Linked DNA regions of Homo sapiens: regions 1, 2, 3, 5 and 6 are each linked to region 4. The links are contacts of gene promoters, found by promoter capture Hi-C in blood cells and fetal thymus (Javierre and others, 2016). All regions are on one chromosome and are shown on one strand. The core of a region is centred on a gene start or on the middle of the fragment in contact, and the rest is flanking DNA. Distances in the headings are between cores, read along the strand shown.

Region 1 (4,893 bases), core at 1,024-3,523, 610 kb after region 4:
CAATGTGATGGTATTTAGGATGTGGGGCATTTGGGAGGTGAATAGGTCATGAAGGTGAAGGCCTCATAAATGGAATTAGTGCTCTTATAAAAGAGGCCCCAGAGAGCTCATTTGACTCTTCTGTCATGTGAGAACACAGAGAACACCACCATGTATGAACTGGAAAGTGGGCCCTCACTAGACACTGAATCTGTTGGCATATTGATCTTGAGCTTCCTAGGCTTCAAAACTGGAAGAAATAAATTTCTGTTGTTTATAAGCCACCCAGTCTATAGAATTCTGTTATAGCAGTCCAAATGGACTAAGATGAACACTAACACTAATTGCCCATATTGCATGCCAGCTGTAAGAGAAAGCACCATTTGAGGAAACACAAAACTAAACACACATTAGAGTCCTTTTTACAACTCTGCTTTGTTGCTGTTTAATTCATGGTTCTCAACCTTGACTGCACATTGAAATACTGTGTGTTTCGAATGTTTCGAAAATACTGACAGCTATAAGTAGGTAAATCAATCAATCGAATTACCTAATTTTGAAAGTAAATAAATAAAAATACCAATTTGGGGTCTCACACCCAAATATTCTGATTTAATTAGTTCAGACGGCAGCCCAGACAGCAAAAGTTTTATAAGCTCTCCAGGTGATTCTAATATGCAGGCAGGATTGAGACCCACTTGCCCAAAAGCTACAGTCATGTGCCCCATAACGATGTTTTGCTCAATCACAGGACCACATGTACAGTGGTGGTCCTATAAGATTACAATGGAATTAAAAATTTCCTATTGCCTAGTGGCATTGTAGTCATAGTAACGTTGCAGCCCTAACACCATAATGCAATGCAATGCATTACTCATGTTTGTGACACTAGTGTTAACAAGCTATTGCTCTGCCAGTCATATAAAAGACTAGCAATACAACTATGTATAGAACATATACTTGATAATGACAATAAACAACTATGTTACTGGTTTAGATATTTACTATACCATACCTTTTATCATTATTTTCAAGCGGACTCCTTCTACTTATTAAAAAAAACAGTTAAGTGTAAAACAAGCTCAGGCAGGTCCTTCAGGAAGTATTCCAGAAGAAAAAATTGTTAGCGTAGGAGATGACAGCTTCGTGAATGTTACTGTCCCTAAAGACCTTCCAGAGGGGAACAAGATGTGGAGATGGAAGACCATGATACTGATGATCCTGACCCTGTGTAGGCCTAGGCTAATGTGTGTGTTTGGTCTTAGAGTCTAACAAAAAAGTCTCAAAACTGCGCTTGCTTTGGCAGCCCATGTACTAAAACTGGAGTGATACAGAGAATAGTAACATGGCTCCTGTGCAAGAATGACACACAAATTGTGATGCGTTCCATTAAAAAAAACTAAAAATAAGTAAAAATAATAAAAAGTAAAAGTTTTAAAGTAGATAAGCTTAGAGAATAAGGATATACATGATGAAAATATTTTTGTACAGCTGTACAATTTGTGTTTAAGTGTTATTACAAAACAGTAAAACAGGTAAAAAAATTTAAGGTTTATAAAGTGAAAAAATTATAGTAAGCTAAGGTTAATTAGTTATTGAAGAAAGAAAAAAATTATGTATTTTTTGAGATGGAGTCTTGCTCTGTCACCCAAACTGGAGTGCAATGATGCAATCATGGCTCATTGTAGCCTTGAACTCCTGGTCTCAAGTGGTCCTCCCACCTCAGCCTCTCAAGTTGCTGGGACTACAGGTGTGTGCCTCCACACACAGCTAATTTTTAAATTTTTTGTAGAGATGATGTATTGCCATGTTGCCCAAGCTGGTCTGAAACTCCTGAACTTAAGCGATCCATCCACCTCAGCCTCCCAAAGTGTTGGGATTACAGGAGTGAGCCACCATGTCCAGCCAAGAAAAAATATTTTTTATAAATGTAGTGTAGCCTAAGTGTACAGTGTTTGTAAAGTCTACAGTAGCATGGAGTGATGTCCTAGACCTTCACATTTACTCACCACCCACTCACTGACTCAACCAGAGCAACTTCTACTATTGCAAGCTCCATTCGTGGTAAGCGCCTTATACAGGTGTATAATTTTTTAAATCTTTTATACTGTATTTTTACTGTGCCTTTTCTATATTTAGATATGTTCGATACATAAATACTTACCATTGTGTTCCCATTGCCTACAGTATTCAACATAGCAACATGCTGTTCAGGTTCGTAGCCTAGGAGCAATAGGCCACACCATATAGCCTGGGTGTGTAGTAGGCTATACCACCTATGTTTGTGTAAGTGCACTCTGTGCTGTTCACACAACAAAATCACCTAATGACACATTTTTCAGAATGTACCCTCATCATTATGCAACACATGACTGTGCTTCTTAGACTCCAAACATACTTCCCCTGACTTGGTTCTAGGGAGTCAACATTGTCAATGTTACAACTTCGTCTTAGAATGGTTTAGTGCTCCCCCCCACCTTCTTCTTATACCCAGGATCATAAAGGCTTCTTCAAGGGCATTTTGTTGGGCACGGAGCTGACCACCTCCATGTGTTTCCTTCCCTTCAGGCCTTACAGAGCTTATTCTCATTATTCCACCTCTATTTGCAACGGAGCCTGAAACCTATCCTTATTTGCAGTTTGCCATTTAAAAATCATCCCTTCTGGCTTTACTTTTTGCCCTGTTCTTTCTGTGTCCAAACTGAAAGTCCGAAGTGAGAGAAACTCATGCTACAGAGTAACTCGCTGGGGTTTGGTGTCAAATCTTAAAACGCCCACTTTCCAATCAAGGGTGACTAAATTATGAAGTAGCACTGCCCCCACCCCCTCCTTTTTAGCTCTTCACAATGCTTGCTATCACCTATTTTATAATTAGCAGTAGATTAGCATGAAAAAGATCTTCCTTCCTGAATTAGGCACTGCAAATATATTTTCTAACTTTTGACCTAAATTGCAGTCTGATTTAAAGTTTTGTTTGTTTGTTTACCAGTTTTCTAGAGAAATAAGAAAAAAAAATAAAGTTTTGTTTGTTTGCTTGCTTGCTTGCTTTTTTTATTCACTCAACAAATCCTTAGCACATTTTGAACAAAGCAGCTTGAAAGCAGAGTTAGGCTATTTCTGTACACAAATAGAAGAGCAACTAAGCTTGTGTTTTCACCAGTGGTCTTTTGCAGAAGATAAGGGTCAATAGCTATGAGGGACCAAGGCTCAAGTTTCACTTAAGGGAAACTGGATTCACTTCTCCAAGTGATACTGAAAGCTTGTATTCCAGGGTTAAGATTTACCAAATCAGGGACTCTCTTGTTTTCAGGGATAGTGCAGATTCTACATATCGGGTTTTTAGGGTGCACATGATGAATAGTTTGGAAACGTTTCTGCACCAGTTTATCACTGGCAAGACAGAGGTACCACTTGCAGTCCTCTTCCTGAGAAGGTTCCTCCCACAAGGCATCCCACTTCCTTTTCAAATTTTACTTATTTTGCTCATCAGCAATAAAATGAAAATGTGTCTTTCGCTCTCTATAATCATCTCCCCAACTCAGCAACTTAAGGTGCCTCTGTCACTTTGATTTATTCAAATGATTTGAAATGTCAACTTATTGAAGATCTGTAGAGGACCATGGGTAATGTCACCCACTGCCCTGAAAAGCCAACGAATTTTAACTCTCTGAACGGATGTCAGACAAGGGCAAAGCTGAGCCCATGGAATCACTTTTTGCCATGCTTCTCAATGGAGCAATTCAAGGTGACTTCGTCATGCCCATTGAGGAAGCCACATCTGCCAGTTTGTATGGCATCATATTGGCAAAAAGGAAAAATGGTCACTGAGAGGAGACTTTTCCCCACAAGTATGATTTCTTAGAGAGCCATGGCATTATTTTGGTGCTTAATGAAGTGAAACCTTTTTATCCCAGCTACAGTCCGGCCTTACTGGATTGGCAACAGCCCCAGCAAACTGACAATTTAAATGAGGGTGCCACTGCTTGAGGACTTTATGTGAGGCCTCATTAATTAGTCTATGAGGATGGTCTAACACGGTGCTTGGCACAGAGGTAGATAGCACTCGTGGCATATTAACCATTGCTATGATTATGAAAAGTTCATTTCTAGAGAGTTCCACCAGTAGTTAAGAGGTAGGCTTAGGGATTTGACCTCTAACACACTGTGACTATTCCTGTCATTCTATCCTGCTGGTGGCTGGCCTGGTGCTCTAGGGTAGTCAAAACCATTTTAAGAAACCGCAGAGAAATGTTAAATTCTCCTGTTGTGCTGGAATTCAGTGAATGCCAATGGATCTTAAAATAATTGGGTCAGTGTCTGAGGCTTAGAAAGGCAAGAATTCTCTTTTGCCACATGGGATTTTGTGTGAATTTGGCATTAATATCAGACCTGTGCTATCTTGGCTTGCTTCTTTAGGAAGTAAGCTGGTGCTAACCCCTCAAGGAAAGGATAAAACACTTAGCAGAGCCTTGTTTGTTTCTCAGTAGGGAGTGGCACACTAGCTTAACATGTAGGAAGTTGGCAATAAAGTACTATGTATGACGGAGATCTGACCTCGTTCTTAGCTGAGGTTGGTATGGCTTCCTCTAGAGCATTTGCCAAGTGGCCTTTGTGGTTAAACAGCACACTGAACTTTCTCTTAACTCCTTTTAAAGTGAGGACAAAAGGATGGATATGCCTGGCTGCCGCCAATGAACATTACACAGTGCCTCCTCTGTGTTAGGTGTTGGAGGTGCCATGAGCAGCACAGTCCCAGTCCCAGTTCTCAAGTTCACAGTCTAGTCAGAGATACAAACAGTGATGCACTGGAGCCCATTGCTACTGATTCATGAGAGTTGATAGATGTTTAGAAATTTTTGCCAGTCAGTCGTTAAACACAAACTTATTAAAAATAAAATTCTATAAGCCTGCAAT
Region 2 (4,499 bases), core at 1,226-3,725, 520 kb after region 4:
ATTACCTCAGTCATTAGGGAGTTATTCTATGAATATGCAGGGAAATGAGAAAAAATAGGAACCAGGCCTCACAGAGACCACAGCATTGTGCAATTATAAACTGCCAGTTCTCACGACCAAACAGAATGCCATTACAGGTACAATGTGTGTACCTCTCAACTCCACTGCCTCACTAGTATAGTGACTCAGTGACCCTTCTTCGCTGCTTCAGCTGCTCCTCTCACCCGTGGGGAACTTCTCCACAGCAGGCCTCTGTTCTGCCTTTTACCTTCCCTGGGAGTATCTCCTTGCTTCTTTGCTACTCTGACCACATCCCTGTATGTTCCATACTCAAACTTTCTGGGAGAGGTTCTTACTGGCTCAGTCAAATCCAGTCTAGAATGCAGAGCTATCTGCCAGGTCACCACACAGACCCTGGGCAGCCTTTGGGCCAGGATGGCTGGGTGACATGGGACATAAGCATAAGGAACCCTTTAAGTCACCTGCTCAAAAGACGGTTGTGGTAGAGCCGGCACTCAATGATATGTGCAGTAGGGTGGTGTCGCATATTATCACCTATGCTGTGAACTCGGGAATGAAATGGGAGCCCAATAACACATTGCTGAAAACAGCTGTATGCTATTTTTGGATCCAGGAAAAAATATTTAGCAAAGTTTAAGCCTAATAAAACTCACATTACCTATATCATAAAAGTGCACACAAATTCAGTTCTCCAAGAGTTCCTGCCAGAATGAGAACTTCATGAAAAAGAAATGTAATTTAAAAAAAAACTAACCCAAACTATTAAAAACTGTTGTTATCGTTGAAACCATAGATTCACACAACTGGTGTGTGGGGAGCCAGGATTTTCTAGAAGTAGTACTCAACTGCTATGTTTAGAAGTGAAGGTCACTGGAATAGTGAAATAATTTCTTCTGGTAAGGTTTTCCCGGACCTCAAGCCCGGGTTATGATATTTATGTTTACACTAATGGGTTCCTTATTATTTTAATGAATTAGTATTTTTTAACAGCCGCTTTCATTTTTGTGCAGAAATATTGGTAAGTATAAACCACAAACAAACGTTTTTTGGGGTTTTCAATGTTTTAGTGTAAAGAGGACCTGGAACCAAAAAGTTTGAGAACTGCTGTCCTCCAGCATCTCATATCTGTCAGGTGCCAACCATCTTAATTCTGTCTCCCCTGAGCTGTGCCTGTCTTGTCAACTCCTGGGTCGCCAGAGCCTCACGCAGTGCCCTGCACTTAGTAGGGGCTCAATAAATACCTGCCCAACTTAAAAATATGGACCTTTTCCTTTTCAGCAATGAGTGTAATTCCTGAAAACAAAGTTCTGTTTAGAACAAAAAGTATGCTGTGTCTTTCTAAAAGAATGACAAAGAAGCGGAGTTTCCCGGCCAATAAAGCTGGTGTTTACACTGGGATGTTTACATTTATGCTTAAGTTTCAAGTTCGAAGCTCGAGCGCCACTGAAATCTGCAGTACAAGAGGCAGGCAACTGCTGCCCTTTCCATCCTTCCCACGGAGTCGAACTCCAGCCAGAGGAAGGTATGAGACCGATAAAGGAGAAGGCTGACACCAGAAAAAGAAAGTTGGCCCTTCTACCCCTCATTCGTTCATTCATTCGCTCATTCCGCATTAGACACCAGAGCCGGTGCCAGGAGTTTAGGCTACCAAGATGAACAAGATCCGGTGTCTATCCCCGGGTGTCGTAAAGAAACAAGTAAAAGACGCGGTTCCTGAGCGGGGGAGGGGCCTTTGGGCGAAGGAGGCGCGTCGTTTTCTCGAAGCCAGAGAAATTTGTCCTGTCCGCCCCACCCACTCCCCTAAGATGGCGCCCTCGCGAAACCCGCCCGGCCACCCCCGCGAGGGAATATTCCCACGCCTTCCTTCCGTTTCCCTCCCGGGCCGGCCGATCCGCCGGGGACCCCGCGGAGCTCAAGGCCCTTGAGGCGCCGCGGGATCCCAGTGGCCCTCGCCCCGCCCCAAACCCGACCCCGGTGGGCGTCGACGCGCAGCAGCAGCGGGTCCCCCCAACCCCGGCGCCCCGCCTCCCCGGGCCTCGCGCCGCATGCCGGCGTCGGCGCTTTTTGACGCCATAGTGGGCGTGTCGGCGCGACCCGCGACGTCGCCACGCGCCGACAATGGCGGCTGCGTCGGCCTGAGCAGGGCTTAGTTTAGAAGTAATTTCCTGACGTTGCCGAGGGAGCCGCAGTCGCCTCAGATCCGGTCGGCGGCGGCGGCGGTGGCGGCGGCGGCAGCGCGCCTGCGCGCTCCCGCAGCGCCCTGGACCTAGCGGCGGTGCCGAGGCCCGGCGGAGCAAGCCAGGTGGGCGGCGGCGCGGCCGAGCTCACAGCATCAGCGCGCGCGCGCGGTGGGCGGGCAGAGAGGGGGGCGGTGCAGCCGCCGAGCGGCCGCGATTTCCCGGGGACTGCTGGGGCGCAGCGGGGAGGCGGGCCGGGGGGCGGCGGGGCGCGAGCAGAGCGCGGTTGACCTCCCTTTCTCTGCTCAGCTCCAGCGTCATTTCGGCCTCTTAGTTCTTCTGAACCCTGCTCCTGAGCTAGGTAGGAAACATGAGCGGCACCAACTTGGATGGGAACGATGAGTTTGATGAGCAGTTGCGAATGCAAGAATTGTACGGAGACGGCAAGGATGGTGACACCCAGACCGATGCCGGCGGAGAACCCGATTCTCTCGGGCAGCAGCCGACGGACACTCCCTACGAGTGGGACCTGGACAAAAAGGCTTGGTTCCCCAAGGTAGGAGAGTGCCACGGGCGCCACTGCAGAGCGGGCCGCCTGGCCAGCCTCGCGGGGCACTCCTTTTACGTTTGCTTTGCTGAGATCCTTGGTCCTTGGTCCTAGCCCCCTTGAATAGCGACGCTTCTTTTTGTTGTGTTTGTTGGGGCACCGATGTGTAAAAGAACGTAAATCTTTAGGGTAGTGTCTTAAATGTAATTTTTAAGTCTTTTCTATGCTTTATTAATCTTGTCTGTGAAGGTCACAGTTGATTATTACATGACTGCTTTTTATTGCAAAGAGGAAAAATACCAAGAACAAATTTAGTAGCTGTCCATTTCTGGTAGCCAACCCCACTTGTCCTAGGAACTCAGATGTTTAGCTTATGTACTATGTGCAAAATGCAGTTTCTTGATTTCTTTTTTAAAGTAGCTGTTTATATAGCTTTACTAATTGAACTTTCTTTGCACCTTGCTTTACTTTCCTAGTAAATTTTGTCCCTAGGCATATATGTTTGAACCATATAACCACAGGAATAAGACTGGAGATACACAGAATACAGATGGAAAATCTGTGTATGTTTGTTTGGAATACTTGGAAATTGCTAAGTATTTTTATTTCAGCTTCGAAGTAAAATAACTAATGTTAAACTTGATTCTGTAAACTTTGTGGTAAAAGTGCCCTTTTAATCTGGCTCTCATGAGCAGGAAAGGGCACACTAATAGCACACAAATTGACTTGCAAGTCAATGATACAAAACCTGTCTCCACTGCGCGACTGGACTGCTATTGTAAAAATTCTTTTGCAACTTTTCTTTCCCATTCTGTATTTGTATATATATTCCAATCCCTCCAGATTGTTAAAATTTACGATTTCACTTCTGTGTTGGTAGTGCTAGTTTGAGTGCAGATTTGGTTTCTTCAGCATTCTGAATACTTTTAACAAAGGTGTGATAATGGATTAATGTGTGACTTTATCCTTTTATGTTGTTGAAGCCCATACCTCTTCAAACTTTGGGTTTTACATTTTCCCCATTCCATGCCTGCCTAATATTGATTGGTATGATGATATAACTATATTTCTTTCGTTTTGCAATAACGCTTTTCCCCCAAAGGGGAGGAAGATAGATATGAGTTGGATTTGTCTTTAATTTGTTCTGATACTAAAATATAACGTCATTTAATTTGTGATAAAGTTAAAATGAGCATTTAGTTTTACAATTGTTAACCCCATTCTTTATATACCAAATCAGAGTTCTGTTCTGTGTGCTCTCTGCATACAGATATTTAAGTACTTATTGTACATGTATATTGGTGCATCTGTACAGTAAGAGAAAATTGGATTCTGTGGTTAGATTATTCATTGACTGTTGGTTTTTATTGTTTTATTATCTGGTTCTTCCTTTGTTGTATGTATTTGTAGCCTTAGTCAAGTAGTGTAGAGAGGTAGTAATTAATAAATGAAACAACTAGAAAAGGTGCCAGCATCACTTAAAATGCTTTAAATCGTATCTCAGACTTTTGCATTGATCATCTAAGTACTTGTGTCTTATTTTTTATCACCGTATGCACAATTTTCTATAGAAGGTGACTATTCTTGCATTTATACCTTAATAACTACAACTATTATCCACAGAAACACTTTTGTGTTAAGTTGTATAACTATGCTGTAAAAACACAATTTAAACTTCTTATGAGTGGAAATAATTTTGAATTTCTCTGTCCGGGTCTGTTGAATTGCTTGTGTAGATTACTGAAGATTTCATT
Region 3 (4,540 bases), core at 935-3,434, 810 kb after region 4:
GGATTAAAGGCATGAGCCATCATGCCCGGCCTTATTTGATTCTTAAAGCAATCCCATGAGTTGGCTATTAGCATGTCCGTTTTACAGATAAAAATACTGAAGCACAGAGAAGTTAAGCAACTTGATGCTCGTGTGGAAGTATCACCTCCCTTTCAGTAACACTTCCTATACACACTGTAGGGATCCATATAATATAAAATAATGCCACAAAATTTACTATACAATTTCTACCTCAAAGCCAAGTTCTCTCAGCTTTTCAAGGCCTCTGTTCTAAAGTGTTAATGGGAAGGAGTAACAATGGCCTTTCCTCTTTTCTCAACTTGGGAGGATTACAGTGACCCTCTCCAACAGTCAGTGGCCCACTTTTGGTTCCCCTTAGTAGGAGAACACACCCACACAAGCTCTGTCACTGGAAGCCTGTTTACAGGGCTTGGATGCTGTATATAAAAGGCATTATTGTGTGAGTTTTTATTTTGTTTTGTTTTGCTTGGAACTGGTTTCTGGAAAAGACAGACTAGCAATCCATTACTGGGGACCACCAGTCTGCTACCTCTGTTTAACTCAGTGGCCAATGACAGTGAAAATAAACAAGTACTCTTACTACCAATCTTGATTAGCAGAGCAAAAAAACGATGACAACAGGGAAGGCACCCGGGGTAGGCTTACTTCCACTTGGAGGGTTGCACATCCTTTCAGGAAGTCATTGATGTTGTTGATGCAGTCAGCTTCAGTTTGGGGATCCAGACAAAACTAGAGGAACACAGTGAAATGTCACTTGGAGATTGTCATCCCATGCCAAGCAAAGTATACTCATCATTTGCTGATAACTAGAGAAAGCAGGCCTCTTAAGGTGTGGGGCAACACTGCTGTCAATCCAGGAAGAGAAATAACCACTGAAGGAAGTGATGCAAAAATCTAAACGGTCGATCTTTGTTTCAAATGTCACCAAACCTTTAGTGGCAAGCCATGTCTACTTACAAGCTTTCTCTCATGCCTTCTGTTCCAGTGTGCTGATGGCAAATTAGGGAGACCAAGACAGTTTTTTGAGCTTAGTTCTTGCTTTCAAGAAAGGAAGCAATCCCTGGTACCTCTCTCTCCTCCTTCCCCCTGATAATTTAATAAAATTCTATTTCCCCTCTACATTTGACCACACTTCTTTACATTTTATCACTATTTAATCACTCTTTCTCAAGTTTAAGAAATTATAAGTAAATTTATTTGCTCAATAAAAATACAAACTGGCTCATGAAGGCAAAAGTGCTATGCTCACAGTCCATGATGACCTTAAGAAAGTAAATGTAAAATTGTACCTTTAAGCTTACTTAAAGTGCCTACTTTAGAAATTATCTATTCTCGTGATCGTGGATTTCCAGCTATTAAAAATCTTGAATTGTTTTAAAGAGAGTAAAGTTAGTTTCACTTTGAACGCACATTGCATTCGAAACATATATCTGGTTTCTATTGCTTTTACAAACTTTATGTGACATTTTGAATTATTTTTTTCCTAGTTGCTATATAGTCTCTCCTTCAATGGATTTTTCTAAAAGGAAATCTACACTGATTTTAATCAAACTGCCAATAAACACCACCAAGATCTGTTATAAATCATTCTATTTTTCCACAGACTCATAAGTACCCCAAGTTCAAAACATGTCCTCGGTACACAAGGAGATGTAACATGCATCTCCATGATAGAGCAAGCTTGTGATATGAGTGTTCTCCTTGTCCCTTGTTGCCAGTGGTGTCACAGGTTTTCCCTATACTACAATTTGGGGGCCAATTACTAAAGAATAACGTTTCATTTTCTTACATTTTCAAACTACAAAAACAGTAAGAAAGAATGTCTAACTCTTAGAAAAATATTAAAGTAGGAGATTCCCATGGCCTGGGAAATAGAAAAATCTCAAGAGTTACATGATTGCTGCTCTCTGGTGATAAGCAATCCCAAAGAGACTGCAAATTTCCCTTACCTTTTCCACAGAGCCAGGCATGAGTCTGTTGATCAGTTTGCACAGAACTACCCCATTTTTCAGCGAGGACTTTAAAAACTCCTCCGGATCACAGATGGTCTTTTTAGGGGACTCTAAAACTCCCAAAGATATAAGCCATGTCACGATTTGTTCTTCTGGATTCATTACTGAGGACGGTACACTCCAAACAGCACTCTGGGGCAGCTGCAAGGACTAAGCCACATCCGCGATTGCATCTGCTGTTGTCTTCCTTTTTATGAGTTCTCTTCGGGTGCTTGCAGAGCAAAGGTTTAAAGCAACTTTTCTTAAACAACAGCGGAACCCACTCAAAATATGGGATTTTAAAACCACAGAGATCACGGTCCAAGATGTGGAAACAGATAAGAATTAATTTAACAATCCTGGATAACGCTGGTTTTTCCTTTTCAAAACCTGCAAAACAAATTCGTTAGGATAAAAAAAAAGAAGAAACGCACATGCACACACGCATACACACACACGCACACAGAGTGCAAGAAGTTATAAGGGAAGAAAGTGAAAAGGATGCTGGGGAGGGAGGAGAGACAAGCAAGCAAGTGCTTTGGGAAACAGAGGTGAGCCAGCACTTCAGGGGACCTTGGAAATGAGACACTCATGGGCCAGTCTGGGAAAACACTGTCAATAAATAGTCTAGCCCCAGTGAAAATCTGGCTTCTGTTAGGAGGACGATGCCAACTGGCTCTTAGGTCAGACAGATCTGAGCCTCATGGGGAGATGTGCTGGCACAACAGGGCTCAAAGAAGGTAGACAGAAAATTCTTCCAAGAAATAGCCGGATGTCCTCATAGTATCTCCCAGAGATGGTGTGTCACGATCATTCCTTGCAAAACACGTTGAGTTGCATGGTGACAACGTGCCAAGCAAACGAAGATTATGCCTGCTGTCAGCCATCACTGTGTATAAGCAGAAGCTAGAAGAATGGCATTTTACTTTGCAGCCAAAAAGCTATGTTTAGGGAAATAGGCTAAGGATAACATCTGACATCCTGTTTACTTGCATTCTTTAGCAATTCTTTTTCTGGACCTGGTTCCACTACATAATCCAGCTGCAGTACCCTTAGCAAAGGCTCAGACTCAGTCACATAAGTGGGTAAAATACACTTGAAAAAATAGAATGTTTGAGAACAAAAGAGCACTTGTCCTCTGTCTACACTACAATATGGAAGATTCTTATTTTCCCAACAACAACAACAACAAAAAAACACTTTGCACTTAAAATACTGCTCTGAAAAAAAAACTGTCTATAACAAGAGATCTTCATCATTCTCAAACATTTTCAGAACCACTTGAAATAGGCATACTATTGGGAAATTTATGATAAGGCCAACTTTAATAGTATAACCCTATGTTGGCAAATGTGTGGCACTTACCATGATTACCTCTCCTCGTGCATGGGAGACATCAGATCATGTATAGCTCTTTCCTACTAAGCCTCAGAATTCTTTTCAACACAGCTTCAGGCATCTACTACCAAAGAATCAGCTTAGATAACCCTACTAAACATTTTCAAAGCTGCCCTTTCTTGCTCTGTCAGGACACTTGTCACACTTTACTATTATCACTTGTTGATCTGATGATCTGACTCCTCCACAAGAATGTAAACTTCCTAAACTCGGGGTCTTGTTTTTTTTTATTTAACACTGTGTTACCAGCAGACTGCCAGGTATACACAGTAGATGTTAAAAAATGCTGAATGAATAAATGAATGTATTCAGATGGTGTCCCTGATATAGACAGTAACTGATTATAGCAAGGATTTTTTGTTTGTTGGTTGGTTTAAATGGCTTAAAACAAACATTTTTTCTTGTTAATGATTTTTACCATTTTATTAAGCTGTAATTGACACATAAGGAACTGCATATATATGATTTAATGAATTTTGACATATACATACATCTTTGATACAATCACACAAATGCAATCCAGATAAGCCTTTCCATCACCCCCAAAATTGTCCTCGTGCCCTTTCAATTCTTTCTTTCCTCTTTGCCTCCAAATGCCAGGCAACCACCAATCTATTTTCAGTGTCTATAGATTAGTTTGCATTTTCAAGAATCTTATATAAATGGAAGTACACAGTATGGTACTATCTTTTTTCTGGCTTCTTAACTCAACATCATCATTTTCATACTCATTCATGTTATTGTGTCTGTCCATAGTTCTATAACAAGGTTTGCTTGATGTACTTGTGACTTAAGCAAAATAAGTATAATCAATCAAAAGTTTTCATTGACGTTGACCCATGGCCAAATCTATGTAATGGAAATAAAAACAGAATACATTTGTTGATAAATAAAATTCCCAAATCTGACGAACTTAAACACATTTTTATATGTCATCTGAACAGTTTTCACAACTGCTCATCAAAATTTTACTCTACAGACAAACAAAATCTGGCAGTATTATTGAGGTATCACTTACATCTTCTGATGAAGAACAAAGCCTGAGTAAGTTTTGTGAACCCAGCCTCCTCCAAAACAGTCTTGAGTTCACCAAGGTCATCTGGATAAAACTCTGCCTCATTTTGGACACT
Region 4 (4,978 bases), core at 513-3,012:
GCATTCTCATCACCCAAAACATAAAATACAAAAATCTTAATTCTAGATGAACCTAGGACAATCCCTATTTAATAACGTACTTTGGACTAAATAATTCAAACTGTTTTTGAGTGCATGTGTATTGACTCTTGAAGAAGAATGTGTTTAGAGACATTTCTTAAGTTTTAACCTACAGCTCTGTCATAAAGACAAGTGTAAAAGAAACATCAAACCAACACCAAAAATCGATTTTGACTAATCTCCTATCTGGTTCAATTCCTAGCTAGCTTGCTAGTTTGCATGAAGCCTCGCCTGCTTCTAACACTACCTTTAACCAGGAATTTCCTCATCTGTAAAATGAAGGGGTTGGACTTCAGTGAACTCCAAAGGCCCTTCTCGCCCCACAATCATATAATTCTACAGTTAAAGCTTACTGTAGAAAATGACACAGTACTCCAGTGTATCCTAATCTCTTCCAGGACAGTGTTTCTCAAACTAATGCGCATACAAATCACCCTGGGATCTTATTAAAACCCAGATTCTGATTGAACAGGTCTGGCCTGAGTATCTTCTAATTACCTGCCAGGTGGTGCTCATGATGCTGGTCTGTTGATCACACTGTAAGCAGCAAGGATCTAGGATACTTTCCTTAACCTCCCAGTTCCCCCAAAATATGACTGTCCCTGCTTCCATGCATCCTTATATACTTTTAGCATATCACTTTATTGTAACTACTTCTTGATCCACTTGTTTTCCTTTAGACTTTGAACTGGCTCAGGGCATCACTGTATCTCTAGCACCTAAACACAGCGCAATTTCAAACAGCGACCCAAAACTGAATTTCATAACGCAGTGTAGCACAAATCTTTTGCCCAACGTCACACAGATGTAGCGGTAATGCAAGTTTTTAACAACCAGTCCTTTAGACTCCCAGTCCAGTGCTCTTTCTCCTGTACCACAGTGCCTCCCTGAGGCAATCGGTCACTTAACTACTCAGTCTCTGCCTGGACAGCCCAAGAGTGCCCAAGATGTTGTCCACTTGGTTGTCGTGGGACCATGAGCAACCAGAGTCCTCAATCTCACAACTGTGCCTGATCTGCCCCATGCTGGATCTGACATCACTTGTCCTGGATTCCTGGAGACTCCTATTCTGAACCCTCTCCCAGACACCTCCTTCCAACCTTCCTGCAATTTCAGGTGCCACACTCTCTCCAAATTCAAACTCCGAACCTTCCACTGGGAACTCCTGCACTGATTTTCTTAGTCACCCCAAACTGTAAGGTCTCAAAGGACCATTAATCTGACACTCGGTCCGATGGTCCCTTAGAAGTGCGCCCACACACCGCCCCTAGGGTTCCACACCGAAGCGGTCCCCGTGCCCCAGGCACTTACGCTGCGCAGCGGAAAAGGCGGCGTGGGCTAGGGCAAAGAGACCGATGCCCACCAGCCCCTTCCACAGCGACGGCGCCATGATGCCGAAGGAGCAGCAGCCCAGCAAAAGAAGCGAAGGACGGCGGAGCTGTTTCTTCTTCCACCGGCGGGTGTCCGCGCGCCGCAGAAAGATGACGTCACTGAAGTCCTGAGCGCAAAGTGTCTCAGTGGTGGAAAAGCCAGAGGGCTGTGAGAAAACGGAAACAGGAATGCCGGGAAGAAGCAGAAAGCTACACGGAAAAAGGTCCGCGAGAACCCACGAACCTGCGCTATGGAGGCCTCTCTAGGAGGGCCGGAGCCCAACGGAGTCATAAACGAAGAGGCGAAAGCGGGAGCTACGGGGAAGCGAAGAGGAAGGGCGCCGGCAAATGGGGGCAGGGCCAGTGGCGAGAACAGGGTGGGGCAGAGGGACGGGGGCCTGCGTAGAGAACGTGTGGGGGCGAGGGGCGGGGTAGGCAGACGGGCGGGGTGGGGAAGACGCGCGGGGCCCGCACGAGGGTGGGTGTAGCCGAGGGGCGGGGCCAGTGGGTGGGTGGGTGGGCGTAGCCGGGGGGGGGGGGCCCTGGTGGGTGCGGTCGAGTGGCGGGGCCTGCGGGGAGGATGGGTGGGGCCGAGGGGCGGGGAGGAGGTGGGGCCGAGGGGCGGGGAGGAGGTGGGGCCGAGGGGCGGGGAGGAGGTGGGGCCGAGGGCGGGGCCTACGGGAGGATGGGTGGGGCGTAGGGGGCGGGGCGGAGGGGACGGAGAGTGGGTGAGGGCCGAGGGGGCGGGGAGGAGGTGGGACCGAGGGGCGGGGAGGAGGTGGGACCGAGGGGGCGCGGAGGAGTGGGACCGAGGGGGCGGGGAGGAGGTGGGGCCGAGGGGCGGGAGGAGGTGGGGCCGAGGGGCGGGGCTGGGGGCGTTGGGGAAAGGCGGTAGGTGCTGGATATAGACCCCTGACAGTTGTGTTTTGTGGGTTGGTTGGTTTTGGCTTTTTGTGAAACTGTGCCTTTTGTTTTCTGTAGGCCTTTCCTGTGCTTCAGCTCCCTGGAAACTGGCACTGCAGAAGGAGGCAAGGGTGTTAAAACGAGGAGGCAGTGTCAGGACAAAATCCCAGGATCTGGAACCCCAAATACTTGGCTCGCGGGAAGTGCTCAGTAAACCATTTTAAGGTCCTGGAGAAAGATTCGCGCAAAAAGAGGTGTAGCGCGGGGGGAGTGTTTTGTCGTGAAAAGAACCAGCTTACATTAAGGAAGAAATGAAAGAGGAAATTTTAAAATGCTAATAACGCAGCCTTCTTGCCTTGTCTCTATCTCTGATCCGGGTAAAATGTATACTCCTCTGCCCATTTTTCTTTGTCTTCATCTCCTGAAATGTAGACATTTAATAGTGAGCTTCTCCCCTTGACCTCATCACTCTGCTGTCCCCTGGGGAGCTCACCCATTCATTCCCACCGCTTCAGCCAGCAAAGGTATTACAGTGATTCCAAATCGACATCTCTATCACAAATATCTCTCCTTAGCTCCAGGGCTGCATTTCTGACTACCAGATAGGCATTTATTTCCTGTGGCACTTAAAACGTAATATGGCTAAAATGGAATTCATCCTTTTTTTCCAAATTCTGCACCAGTTCCTCCAGTGACCCCTGACTGAGTGGCAAAGCTTTGTAAACTGCATATCACAAGGTAAATGCAAAGTATGATCACCATTCTTTTCCTTTAACCCAATCAGAATTCTACGTTTTAGTTGCATCAATTTGCTTTTGCTCAAAGATGCGTCCTATCCTGACCACCCCTTTTAAATGTGCAAAATTCCTATTCCTGATCCCCTTATTCTGTTCTACTTTTTATATCACCTTCTAACATACTATATAATTTAACTATTTATGTTTGTTGTGTTACTGTTTACTGTCTGTCTTTCCCCACTGGAATGTAAGCTCTGAGAGAACAGAGATTTCTCTGTACCTAAAACTTTGACTGTCATGTGATAAGCATTCAATAAGTGCTTGTTGAATGACAAATGAATTCCGGAAAATAATTGGGACAGTATCCCTATTTGAAAGGATCTCTACAGAGAGTCCTTCCAATCTTTTGAATTGGGCTCAAAAATCCCCATGGACTTGCATGTACTCTCACATTTTGACAACCTTTTGATTGTAAACATTTTCTGATATGCTTGAGCTTCCTCAAAGCTGGAAAAACAAATAAGACATCTCATTAGCTGGGCATAGTAGCACATGCTTGTAGTCCTAGCTACTTGGGAAGCTAAAGAAGGAGGATTGCTTGATCCCAGGAGTTCAAGGCTACAGTGAGCCATGATTATGCCACTGCACTACAGGCTGAGTGACAGAGCGAGACCCTTTCTCTAACCAAAAAAAAAAAAAAAAAAAAGTAGAAGAAGACATCTAAAATTAATCATATTTCCTCAACTTTACTTATATAATTTTTGTCCTGGATCTCATTTTCCAAACCTTTAGTCATGTTCATTATTCTTTTCTGGGCCCTTTCCAATTTCTTCACCTCTAAGCCAGAATTTTACACAATACTTGATGGATGTCAAGTGCAGTATAATGCATTCCTTACAAATGTAGTTCTATTTATACAATCAGGAAGAACCAGGAGATAATCTCTCTGTAGTTGACAGGAAAGTGCTTCCTTCTCCGCCCCTGGGAGGTAATAAGGTAGAAAAGATAGTTGACCAAAAAAATCTTACAACTTTGTTTTGTCTAAAATAATGGTCAGATTGAAATTAGCCTTTTCAGATCCCCTGTAAAATTACCCCTTCTTCCAGACCAGCCTGGCCAACATGGTGAAACCCCATCTCTACTAAAAATACAAAAAATTTGCCGGGCGTGGTGGTGGGCCCCTGTAATTCCAGCTACTCAGGAGGCTGAGGCAGGAGAATCGCTTGAACCCAGGAGGCGGAGGTTGCAGTGAGCCGAGATCACGCCATTGCACTCCAGCCTGGGCAACAAGAGTGAAACTCCATTTCCAAAAAAAAAAAAGAAAAAAGAAAAAAACCCTTTTAATATCAATTTATCTGAAGCAGAAAATGATTAGGAGTTTTCTTATAGGACCTGAGATCTGGTTCTTTTCCTTTAAAAAGATGAAGTTATAGGAAAAAAGAAATTCAATAATGAATCTGGTATTTGTATAAACCACCAATGCATTATCCTAGTCTTCAGGGAGATCACCCATGTCCAGATATTGAGTTTTGTTTTCTCTATTGCCCTCTTAAGATGCATTTCTCACTCTTTTTTTACCTCTTTACCCATATACTGAATGCAAGAGAAACTAGCCTCGTTTCACATTTTCTAGTAATACATGGTTAAATTATGTTCAGGGAGTGAGATTTTAATTGTCTTTTCTGTAGATTCCAACCTGAAGGGAAGCCAAGGTATTCATAGTCACAGTTACCAAGGACTGTATCATTCAAATAAGTACCTTGGGTTCACTCATACATGGTTCTTTAAGTTGCAGTTAATCCCAAAGGTGCAAGGTACAGCTAGTGGTAGCACTGTTTTCATGAGCTCTTAGAACAAAAGTCAAACCTCATGAGAAAGTGCATTTAAATTCCTAAGTGACCCCAGAAG
Region 5 (4,551 bases), core at 1,000-3,499, 620 kb before region 4:
GATTTTATCTTCATGTGGTCTAGACATTTGCTGCTGAATACAGTCACTACTAGTCATGTACAGCTCTTGAGCCCTTGAAATATGGCCAATACAAATTGAGATCTGCTGTAAGTATGAAATACACACCACATGCAGAAGACTTGGTATGAAAAAAGTAGGTGAAATATCTCACTAATAATTGTTCATATTGATTACATGTTGAAATCCTGATTGTTTGCACTGGATTAAGTAACACGTACTATTAAGATTGGCCTTACTTTTTAAAAAATTTATTCATATGGCCACTAGAAAATTTAAAATTACATGCATGATTCTCATACAATTCTACTGGGCACTGTTGGTCTAGACTTGAGAGTGATGGTTCTGGCATTTCCCCCAGGTTGATATGCATGACATGCTCTTGGAAGAACTGGCACCAGTGGGAACGGCACACATACCACCAACCATGCACCTAGAGTCACCTGCACTCCAGGTAATGGGACCTGCCCAGGAGGCCCCAGTAGCAGAGGCATGGATCCCACAGGCAGGGCCACCGGAGCTGAACTATGGTGCTACTGGAGAATGTCAGAACTTTCTGGACCCTGGTAAGGCAAGGGTTTCTCTCCTTTCTTTTGTTTCTGTTTTGAGAGTTCAGGAACTCTCAAGGGTTGGGGTTGGGTTAGAAACACCAATTACTCAATGGAAATTGACCACTCAGATAAAGAAGAGGAAAAAGTCTCTCTGGGAATAGTAGGGAACAAAGCACTTTGGATAGAACCCTGGGATTAGGAACCCTTTAAGCTAATGACCCTGATAAGGAGTCTTTTGATCAAGAATGTTACACAGGAAAACTATGGGAGTTTGGATTCTGGATAAGGACTCATTTCTCAGCCCAATTTTAATCAACAGGAACTGTGATGTGGTGGGCCCCAAGGGCCTCGGTTGCTTTTATGGCATCAGAGCCTTATTCAAACTTAATACTTTAGTAATATAGTCTATTTAGATCCTGTAAGATCAACCACTTACTGCAGTCTAAAGGAAATATCTACCTCATTAAATCAAAACCTATTACAGTGTTTTTCAAACTGTAGTAAGCAGACCATTTGCAGCATGAACACCACAGGTGCATGTTTAGCAAGCTCTGCAGGTGAGTGCTACACACACTAAAGTTTGAGAATCACTGGCCCAGACACCACAGGGATTAGTTCTAGAAGGAGAAAGTCCAAGTGGAGAAAGGCAGCACGATCACATAGTCCAGTTGCTCCTATATTTTATTCCCCTTTGGGGTTTTCTATTTTTTTTTTTTTTTTTTCTGAGACGGGAGTCCTGCTCTGTCGCCCAGGCTGGAGTGCAGTGGCGCAATCTCGGCGCACTGTAACCTCCACCTCCCAGGTTCAAGTGATTCTCCTGCCTCAGCCTCTCAAGTAGCTGGGATCACAGGCATGCACTACCACACGTAGAGACGGGGTTTCACCATGTTGGCCAGGCAGGTCTTTAACTCCTGACCTCAGGTGATCCGCCTGCCTTGGCCTCTCAAAGTGCTGGGATTACAGGCGTGAGCCATTACACCCGGCTTCTCCTTTGGGGTTTTCTTACCCAGTGTTCCCTGTACCTCTTCTACCCCTCACATTAAAGCTTTGGCCCGAGTGTGGCCAGAATCCTCTCCCCGACTCCCCCAGGTACTGTTTCAACATGTTCGCACGTTCAAGAGACTGTTAAATACTGAGACCACAGAAGACACATAAAAAATGAAAATAAGAACTGTCCAAGTTATAAAATATAAATGTCTGATCCATCCATAACTAGCTCAGTACCCAGGATTAGGAACCATGCCCCTTTCCACATCATATTAATATCATTTATTCATTTGTACACTATCTACGAGCACCTTTGAGGAGCCAGACACCATGCCAGACCCTGGGGATTCAGTAGCACACAAGGTTGGAAAGCAGCTCTGGTCATCTTGGAGATTACAGTTCAGTGGACAATTCAGATATGTTAGTAGGACGTTTTGTCCTGTATGTAACAGAAATCTGACAGTAAATGGTATGTTGGGAGGAATAGGATGCCCAGGAGCATGGAGGAGGGCCACCTAACCAGCTTTTGGCTGAGAGGGAAGTCTGGAGGAAGGAGGATCTGGGTTAAAACCTACAGGATGGATCAAAGTGAGCCTGTGGAGTGGTGTACATGGGAAGCGGAGAGGGCTGGGATCAAAAGCAACAACATGTGCAACGTTCTGAAGGCAGAGAGAAGACCTCCTGCTGCAGTGCAAGGGACATAGAAGAGCAGTGGGGCAGGAGTGGCAATAGAAGAGGCTGGAGAGAGAAGCAGGGTCCTGGGTCACGAAGAACTTGCAGCCTCATGGAGAAGTCACACTTGATTATCAGGGAAGTGGGGAACCATTTTGAGGTTCTCCAGTACCAGAATGATACACACAAATTTGCATTTTAGGAGATTATTCTGGCTATAGTAGGAATGGATACATACTACTGAAAGCAGGGACCCCATTTGGGAGGTTGTTGCCATCATTCAGGTGAGAAGATGTTGTTCTAGAGCAAGGGCATGTTGGTGATGATGGAGTGAAAATGTAATTCAAAAGATACTTAGCAGGTGTGAAATATAGAGCTTGGTGATTGGGTGTCAGGGTGATGGAGAAGAAGGGAGTAAGGATGGAATCCAGGTTTCTGGCCATTGAACTGGGTAGATGGTAATGTTATTCACTGACATGACAAACAAAAGAGGAAGATCAGATTCGGTGGGTCAAGTTGAGTTTAGATTTGAACATACAGAGTTTGAGGTGCTTATGGGTCTCCAGCATATTTTTAAATAAAAGTGACAAAAGAGGAAAACTTTACAAGTATGCATATTGTGGTCAAAGCAGAACTATATATTGCCATTTATGTTCCAAGCTTTACATCATCTACATTTCATAGTCTATTGAGGAATTCTAAAAAAAAAAAAAAAAAAAAAAAAAAACAAAACCGGGTTTATGTGTATATGCCTGGAACAAGTAGTAAAACTTAGCTAGTAATATTTTGAAGTATAACTCTTTCTGCATTTGCATTCTGATTCTCCATGTTAATTCGCTCCTTTTGTCAACACTGCAGGTACAAATACCACATAGTAGCAATATTTATCTGGTGTTAATATTTTGCTCTCTAAAGCACATGGAAATCTAGTATATTTAACAAAGGATAGGTAGAATTAATTAATTTAACAGATAAAAATTACAAATTGGAGGACAGGAAATTATCCTTTTCTTATCACCGTTTAAAGTGATATATTATGCTTTGAAAAATGTTGCAAGGCTTATTTTATTATTTAAAGGTTACTTAAACTTTTACTTTAAACAAAAGTATATTTGATGTATTACATGAAATACATTCTATTGTGGACTGAATGGAAAGCACAAGATGCCAGCTGAGTGGAAAAGAAATTCAAAAGTAATGGAAGAAGTCAATTGATTTTATATTAATGTTTGGAACCTATTTCCTATGAGCAAAAAATTAGGTTGTTGAGTATATATGAATTGTGCATATATATTTTTTCATGTAATATAACTGAAAACACATATACACATTCATTGCAAAATAAAAGAGAACTTAAGTGAACAATATAAAGTGACCTAAGGAAGACATAAACTTTAAAACAAAATCCCTTATTTGAATTCATGCTGGACACTTTGATGCCAGAGATAGGCAATAATATTAGAATGTATGCAATCAGAAAGAAAAGAGGCAAGGAGACGCTAGTCTTAAAAACATAAAATATATCATGCTTATCTTTGAAAATATGGAGTTCAAAATTCGTACACCAAAACTGGATTGCATTTTGAGTTGTCAAAGCTTTGGGTTTTTCATTTCAATTGATGAGGTTTCATTTGGAATGTGTGTGAAATGTAAAAGATCACATCTTTTTGGTGATGAAGAATATGAGAGATGAAAATTTAAAGTAAAATACAGGACAAACAAATGCTGTCTAGAAAGCATCAGAAGATTCTTATAACTTAAACTTCTTCAGATTATTCTACTATACCAAAAAATTTACCATAAGCTAATATCTAACCCCCAACTATAGTAATGACATTTCTTGGTGTAGTGAAGCTCTTACGAGACAGTCTTTGCTAATGGGGTTTAATGAAGCCATTCCCTGAGTTTAGGATGGGGGGAACATTCAATGAAGCACCTTCTTTGTTAATCTCCAATTGCTTTTCCCTCTTTGCATGGGATAGCTATTGAAGGGCAATTAATTATCCCCGAAACTTAGCAGCTTAAAGGAAAAAGTATTTATCATGTTACTATTTTTGAGAGGAATTCAGGAGTGATCTACTAGATGTTTATGGCTCAGAGTCTCTCTTGTAGTTGTTGTGAAGATGTCATCAGGGACTGGCAGGATGCCTCAATTCCTTGCCAAAGGAATTTCTCCATAGGTTACCTAAGTATCTTTATGATGGGGCAGCAGGCTTCCCCCAGAGCAAAGGATCCAAGAGAAAGCAAGGAGGATGACACAATGTCTTTGATAACCTACCTACATACCATACTTATACCATATTCTGTTCATTAGAAGAGTCAC
Region 6 (4,543 bases), core at 544-3,043, 700 kb after region 4:
TCTCAGTGAGGCCAAAATCACAGCACTGAGCTTGTTGCTAGCTTAGCTCCCATCAATATACCCCAGCCTTCCTCTCCTTTAAATTTCAAGGCTCACCTTTAGGAAGCTTTCCCTCATTAACCCCACTCAATTTTCTTTTCTTTTCTTTTCTTTTTTTTGAGACGGAGTCTTACACTCTTGCCCAGGCTGGAGTGCAGTGGCGCGATCTCGGCTCACTGCAAGCTCCGCCTCCCGGGTTCACGCCATTCTCCTGCCTCAGCCTCCCGAGTTGTTGGGACTACAGGCACCCGCCACCACACCCGGCTAATTTTTTTTGTATTTTTTTTAGTAGAGACGAGGTTTCACCATGTTAGCCAGGATGGTCTCGATCTCCTGACCTTGTGATCTGCCCGCCTCAGCCTCCCAAAGTGCTGGGATTACAGGCATGAGCCACCGTGCCCGGCCAACCCCACCCAATTTTCTAACCAGTCAGCATAGTCACTCATTTTCCCTTCTCCCTTCTCCTCTACTCCAAACTCATTCTTGCAATGGCTGGATGGCAGCACCCTGTGAACACGCCAGTGTGCATAACCAGGTGTGGGGTGGGGGGTGGGGCATGCCAAAGCTGAAGTGGAGCAAATATTTATCCAAACTATATTCCCAGCTGATACACACAATTCTGTCACCTCTTTGTGAGACATCACTTACTCCTTCACATGTGTCCCAAAGTACCTTGTGTCCCAAAGTACCTTGTTCACAGCCTTATAGCCAAATATGTCCATATCGACTGGCTGACTGACTTTGCAGTCTGTCTCCAAATGAAACTATGTTTCTAGATGTGGGCAGGCTGATTCCCTGAGTAACTGAGAGCATCACTGAGCATGGGACTTCTGGAAGGACTTCAGCCTTCGGGTCTATTTAGTCTATCTCCCTGCAGAAAAATATCTCAAGTATCAGAAACTAAGAGGGAAAAAATGTATCCATAGGAAATGGGTCCCTTTAGAGGTTCTAAACCAGGTGAGGCAAAATACTCAACACAAAAATGATACAGATGACATCTGCCTAAGATGACATGAAGTGCAGCCGTAAGAAGCTTATTCAAATGTTTAAGAAGTGACCAAAGCTTTCCATGCATTCTTCTTTATATGTAAAAGACGATGTCAAGAAAAAATTGCTCCAATCATCTGCTTTCAAATAAATCCTCACATAAAAGAAGATTCTCATGTTAATTTATCCATAAACAACTTTCAGAAAGTACAAAACACATACTTTTCCTAATCACATATTCCTCCTCCGATGGTTTTCTCTCAGTCTTCCTTTTATGAAGAAATTTCTTCATCGTTTTAGGGCTTTTACTAGACTCCTGTGAGGACAGAGGTTTCTTAATGAATTAAAATTCTCCCTCAAAAACAAAAGTAAAAGCATGAATGAAACTAAGTAGAATTCCTCTCTCTTATTTTGACAGTCTCAGTTAGGAGTACATCAATGTTTAATTCTATGCACAATTAAAATGGTTCCAATAAACTCTAAAAGGTTAAATAAAACAGAGGCAATGACATTATCCTCTCAACTTGCACAGAGGTGGGACTAAGAGTGGAGTGTGCCTACTGAAGATGTGGCAGATTCTCCAGGAGGCCAAATGGCTTTAGGGAACCATCTGCAGAGAAAGTAAGGGATGTCAACCCTAAAAACGTAACAGTATTCCTAATTTGGTTTACGTTCCCCACTGATACAGTTTTAGGGGAACTAAATAACCACTGTAACCACTAATGTAGTAATGATCACTTTTCAAAGAGCTTCAAAGCTATTTAAATAATTCTGCCTTAGAAACAGTCCCACAAATAAGAATATAATTTCCATTTGTGAGACAGAAAAATTAAGGCAGAGAGACTAAGCCATTTTTCCGCAGTCAAAGAGAAGAACCAAATGAAGGATTTCCTAAAAAATAATTTTGGGTTAGAAGTAACACACCCACAGCCAAACTTAACTATCCATATATAAAGCCATGTATTTAACTAGTAGACAAAATAAATGTATTGAATTTGTTTTTGCCATATGAGTAACCAGCAGGTCAAAAAAATACTCATTGTCAATATCCTTAATCCTTAATCCAATAATCTGTAAACAGATTACAACCTTAGACTTAGGAAAAAACTCTCATGATCACCTAATCCCAATTTTCCAAGAAATGTGTATACATGGAGCATGGATATTAATTATTAATAGTACCTTAAAAATATAGGAAACAAATCATTTAATTTATTTCACTTAGCCACAGTACTTACACTTGAAAACAAGACAGATATGAAAAACTCTCACATGACAAAAATAACAGGAAAAAACAGAATTTAAAAAAAAACACAGGAAAATGGGCATTTTAGGGCATTATGACATTTTTATATGTATTTCACACAAGCCTGCTTTTTGAACAAAGTACTTACATGTCAAAATTGCATCTTCATATTTTAGCCACCAATTATAACAAGGGACAAAACAAGCATAAGGGAAAGCTTCATTCATCAAAGGTTACAGTACAGCATTATGATGTCACTGTAAGCCAAAGATATTGTACTACCCTTACCTTTAAGATATAAGACATCCTCTAAAATGAATATGTAAAGAAAGAGAAGATGAGCGTGAGAGGTCGATGGTTATAATGACCAAATCCACTTATCAATAATTCTAAAACAACATTTGAAATGTTAGTGTTATCATAAATTACACAGAGGGAATATAATCACATTTCCCACATTAGTTTCAGATGCAATATTATCATGCAAAAGCCCGAGGAATACAGTTCTGTGCAGAATAACAAATGCTGAAAACAACTGAAATACATACTATCTAGTAGGAATATATTAATAACTCTCTTCCCCCAGCAGAAACAAAGTGATCATGCCTTAGTTTTAATAGATTAGTTTTGTGAAGGATTAAGTCAACTTTACTCTTCAAAGCTCACCCTTAATTTGAACTTAGTAACTGATAATTACAAAATATCCATCATTAAAAAGGGGGCCTAGGTAACTATCAAGTGGCACTCCTGGTTTACATAATCAAAGAAGAAAATTGGATGATTGCAAGAATTGCACGTAAATTTCCAAAGCAAATCTGTGGGACTGCTTCCTGACCAAATTCTAAATAGAGTTATATAACAAAGATTCAGTTCGAGGGTTGTTTGTCCTATCATGTCAAGTTGAAAGGATCAAAAAATCCTCCAGTGTCCAAATATTGTCCTATTTTTACTGCACTTAGAGTTGGTAGCAACAATTAATCGAAACAAAAGCATGGTGGTTTCAATCAAAACACTCAAAATTGAGCTAAGTCTGCATCACTCATCAAAACACACGTTTGATATAGAAATATAAGCCACCTTTGCCCCATAATTCTAAGACTCATCTCATAACTGTCACAAACTTAATCTTCACTCAACAAGACCAATTTAAAGAACAGTTACTAATAAATGAGCATCATTTCTGAAATCTGAAATGATTTGAGACAGGTTAGGGATAAAGCCACTGTTTGGATGGAAAAGTAATACTCCACACAGTTACAGAAGCTAGTGAGTGACACTTCCTGACTGCAACTTTGAGAGAAAAAAAAAATACACAAAACCTTTAAATCCCCACACTACCCAAATATCAAATGGCCTTTAAGGTTGTCTCTGAGAAGCCTCTTTTTAAAAGACACTGCTTTCATCAAATTCTTTTCTCATTCCAATTGCAGCAAATATCACTTTTATAGTTTGGACTCATAGCTTGGTCCCATAACACTTTACTAATTTGGTTCAAATTGATCAAAATGATCCCAAATGCTGAATTAAGTCTGCTTCATTGGCAACTCAACTACAATGAAGTGGCTCTTGTTTGAGATTTGTGTACATTATTAACAAATCTAAAGGATTATCATAATAATCATTAAGGTAAACCAGAGGCACTTCAGGAGGAGACTGGGAACACTCAGGCAGTGCACATAGATCCTGTAGATATTCAGTACATATTTGCAGATGGACAATGGGAAATGGAAAATTAAGAAATCAAACAAATCACTGAGTCTGGCAATTCAAGACTGACTCACATAATACCATCTATCTTAAATTCTAGCACATTCCCACAGAACTATTTGTAATAAGCTACGAAATTAACTTGTCAGAAGCATTTTATACCATAGGTAGCAAAATTACCTCTTTATAACCTAGTGCTGCTGATGGTCTAAGTGGAGGTGCAGGTCGTAGACAACTTAAACTCCACGGTTTTATAATTTGAGGAGGCTCCAAGGGTCCTCGGGGCTGTCCGGTAGAGCTAAAAGACTGGGAAAATGTCTGATGAGATGTTGGCAATCTGCCATCTGAACCCGACCTTGTGCCACACAGTGAGAGAACAACAATAGCTTCATTGGATTAGCAAAGACAGCCATAGAAAGGGATAGATGGAAAAACAAAAGTCTCTAGTTTGAGAACTGGTTCTTTCCAGTCCAGATTATCGGGTCTCTAAGAAACAGCACAAAATTGACTCAACATTCCATGATCCTGTCCTCTCTTTCTCATCTGGAATTTAATTAATTTAAT

The links. The method cuts DNA at HindIII sites, captures the fragments that hold promoters and counts their contacts. A CHiCAGO score of 5 or more calls a contact.
Region 1: a fragment that was not itself captured here is called in contact with the fragment with the promoter of MMGT1 in region 4 in 1 of 17 cell types (non-activated CD4 T cells); the score reaches 5.6 in non-activated CD4 T cells.
Region 2: a contact is called between the fragment with the promoter of HTATSF1 here and the fragment with the promoter of MMGT1 in region 4, in 12 of 17 cell types (total B cells, monocytes, naive B cells and 9 more). The highest score is 16.2, in total B cells.
Region 3: the fragment with the promoter of ARHGEF6 here is called in contact with the fragment with the promoter of MMGT1 in region 4 in 5 of 17 cell types (fetal thymus, total CD4 T cells, M2 macrophages and 2 more); the score reaches 10.9 in fetal thymus.
Region 5: a contact is called between a fragment that was not itself captured here and the fragment with the promoter of MMGT1 in region 4, in 1 of 17 cell types (neutrophils). The highest score is 5.4, in neutrophils.
Region 6: a contact is called between a fragment that was not itself captured here and the fragment with the promoter of MMGT1 in region 4, in 1 of 17 cell types (naive CD4 T cells). The highest score is 5.1, in naive CD4 T cells.

The regions. Positions count from the first base shown.
Region 1 is chrX:136,581,971-136,586,863 of GRCh38, forward strand. It overlaps the pseudogene RNU6-320P. Among named protein-coding and RNA genes, the nearest start is that of MIR934, 34 kb to the left of the region's middle. RefSeq lists enhancers at 4,433-4,562, 4,653-4,722. The HindIII fragment of the contact is 1,696 bases long and covers 1,426-3,121 here.
Region 2 is chrX:136,495,117-136,499,615 of GRCh38, forward strand. It overlaps HTATSF1 (HIV-1 Tat specific factor 1), which reads left to right and starts at 2,476. Exons shown (of 9, transcript NM_014500.5): 1 at 2,476-2,754; 2 at 4,482-4,499. The coding sequence starts at 2,569. RefSeq lists a silencer at 1,817-2,486. The HindIII fragment of the contact is 10,358 bases long and covers 1-4,499 here.
Region 3 is chrX:136,778,748-136,783,287 of GRCh38, forward strand. ARHGEF6 (Rac/Cdc42 guanine nucleotide exchange factor 6) reads right to left here and starts at 2,185. Exons shown (of 22, transcript NM_004840.3): 1 at 1,971-2,185; 2 at 667-750. The coding sequence starts at 2,135. RefSeq lists an enhancer at 621-840. The HindIII fragment of the contact is 10,728 bases long and covers 1,700-4,540 here.
Region 4 is chrX:135,972,226-135,977,203 of GRCh38, forward strand. It overlaps MMGT1 (membrane magnesium transporter 1), which reads right to left and starts at 1,763. Exons shown (of 4, transcript NM_173470.3): 1 at 1,372-1,763. The coding sequence starts at 1,450. It also overlaps a transcript of SLC9A6 not described here. RefSeq lists an enhancer at 1,312-1,841 and a silencer at 1,852-1,961. The HindIII fragment of the contact is 2,640 bases long and covers 407-3,046 here.
Region 5 is chrX:135,348,731-135,353,281 of GRCh38, forward strand. It overlaps ZNF449 (zinc finger protein 449), which reads left to right. Exons shown (of 5, transcript NM_152695.6): 3 at 380-584. Among named protein-coding and RNA genes, the nearest start is that of ZNF449, 6.2 kb to the left of the region's middle. The HindIII fragment of the contact is 1,274 bases long and covers 1,613-2,886 here.
Region 6 is chrX:136,675,376-136,679,918 of GRCh38, forward strand. ARHGEF6 (Rac/Cdc42 guanine nucleotide exchange factor 6) reads right to left here. Exons shown (of 22, transcript NM_004840.3): 16 at 4,160-4,285; 17 at 2,561-2,581; 18 at 1,249-1,342. Among named protein-coding and RNA genes, the nearest start is that of CD40LG, 29 kb to the left of the region's middle. The HindIII fragment of the contact is 1,387 bases long and covers 1,101-2,487 here.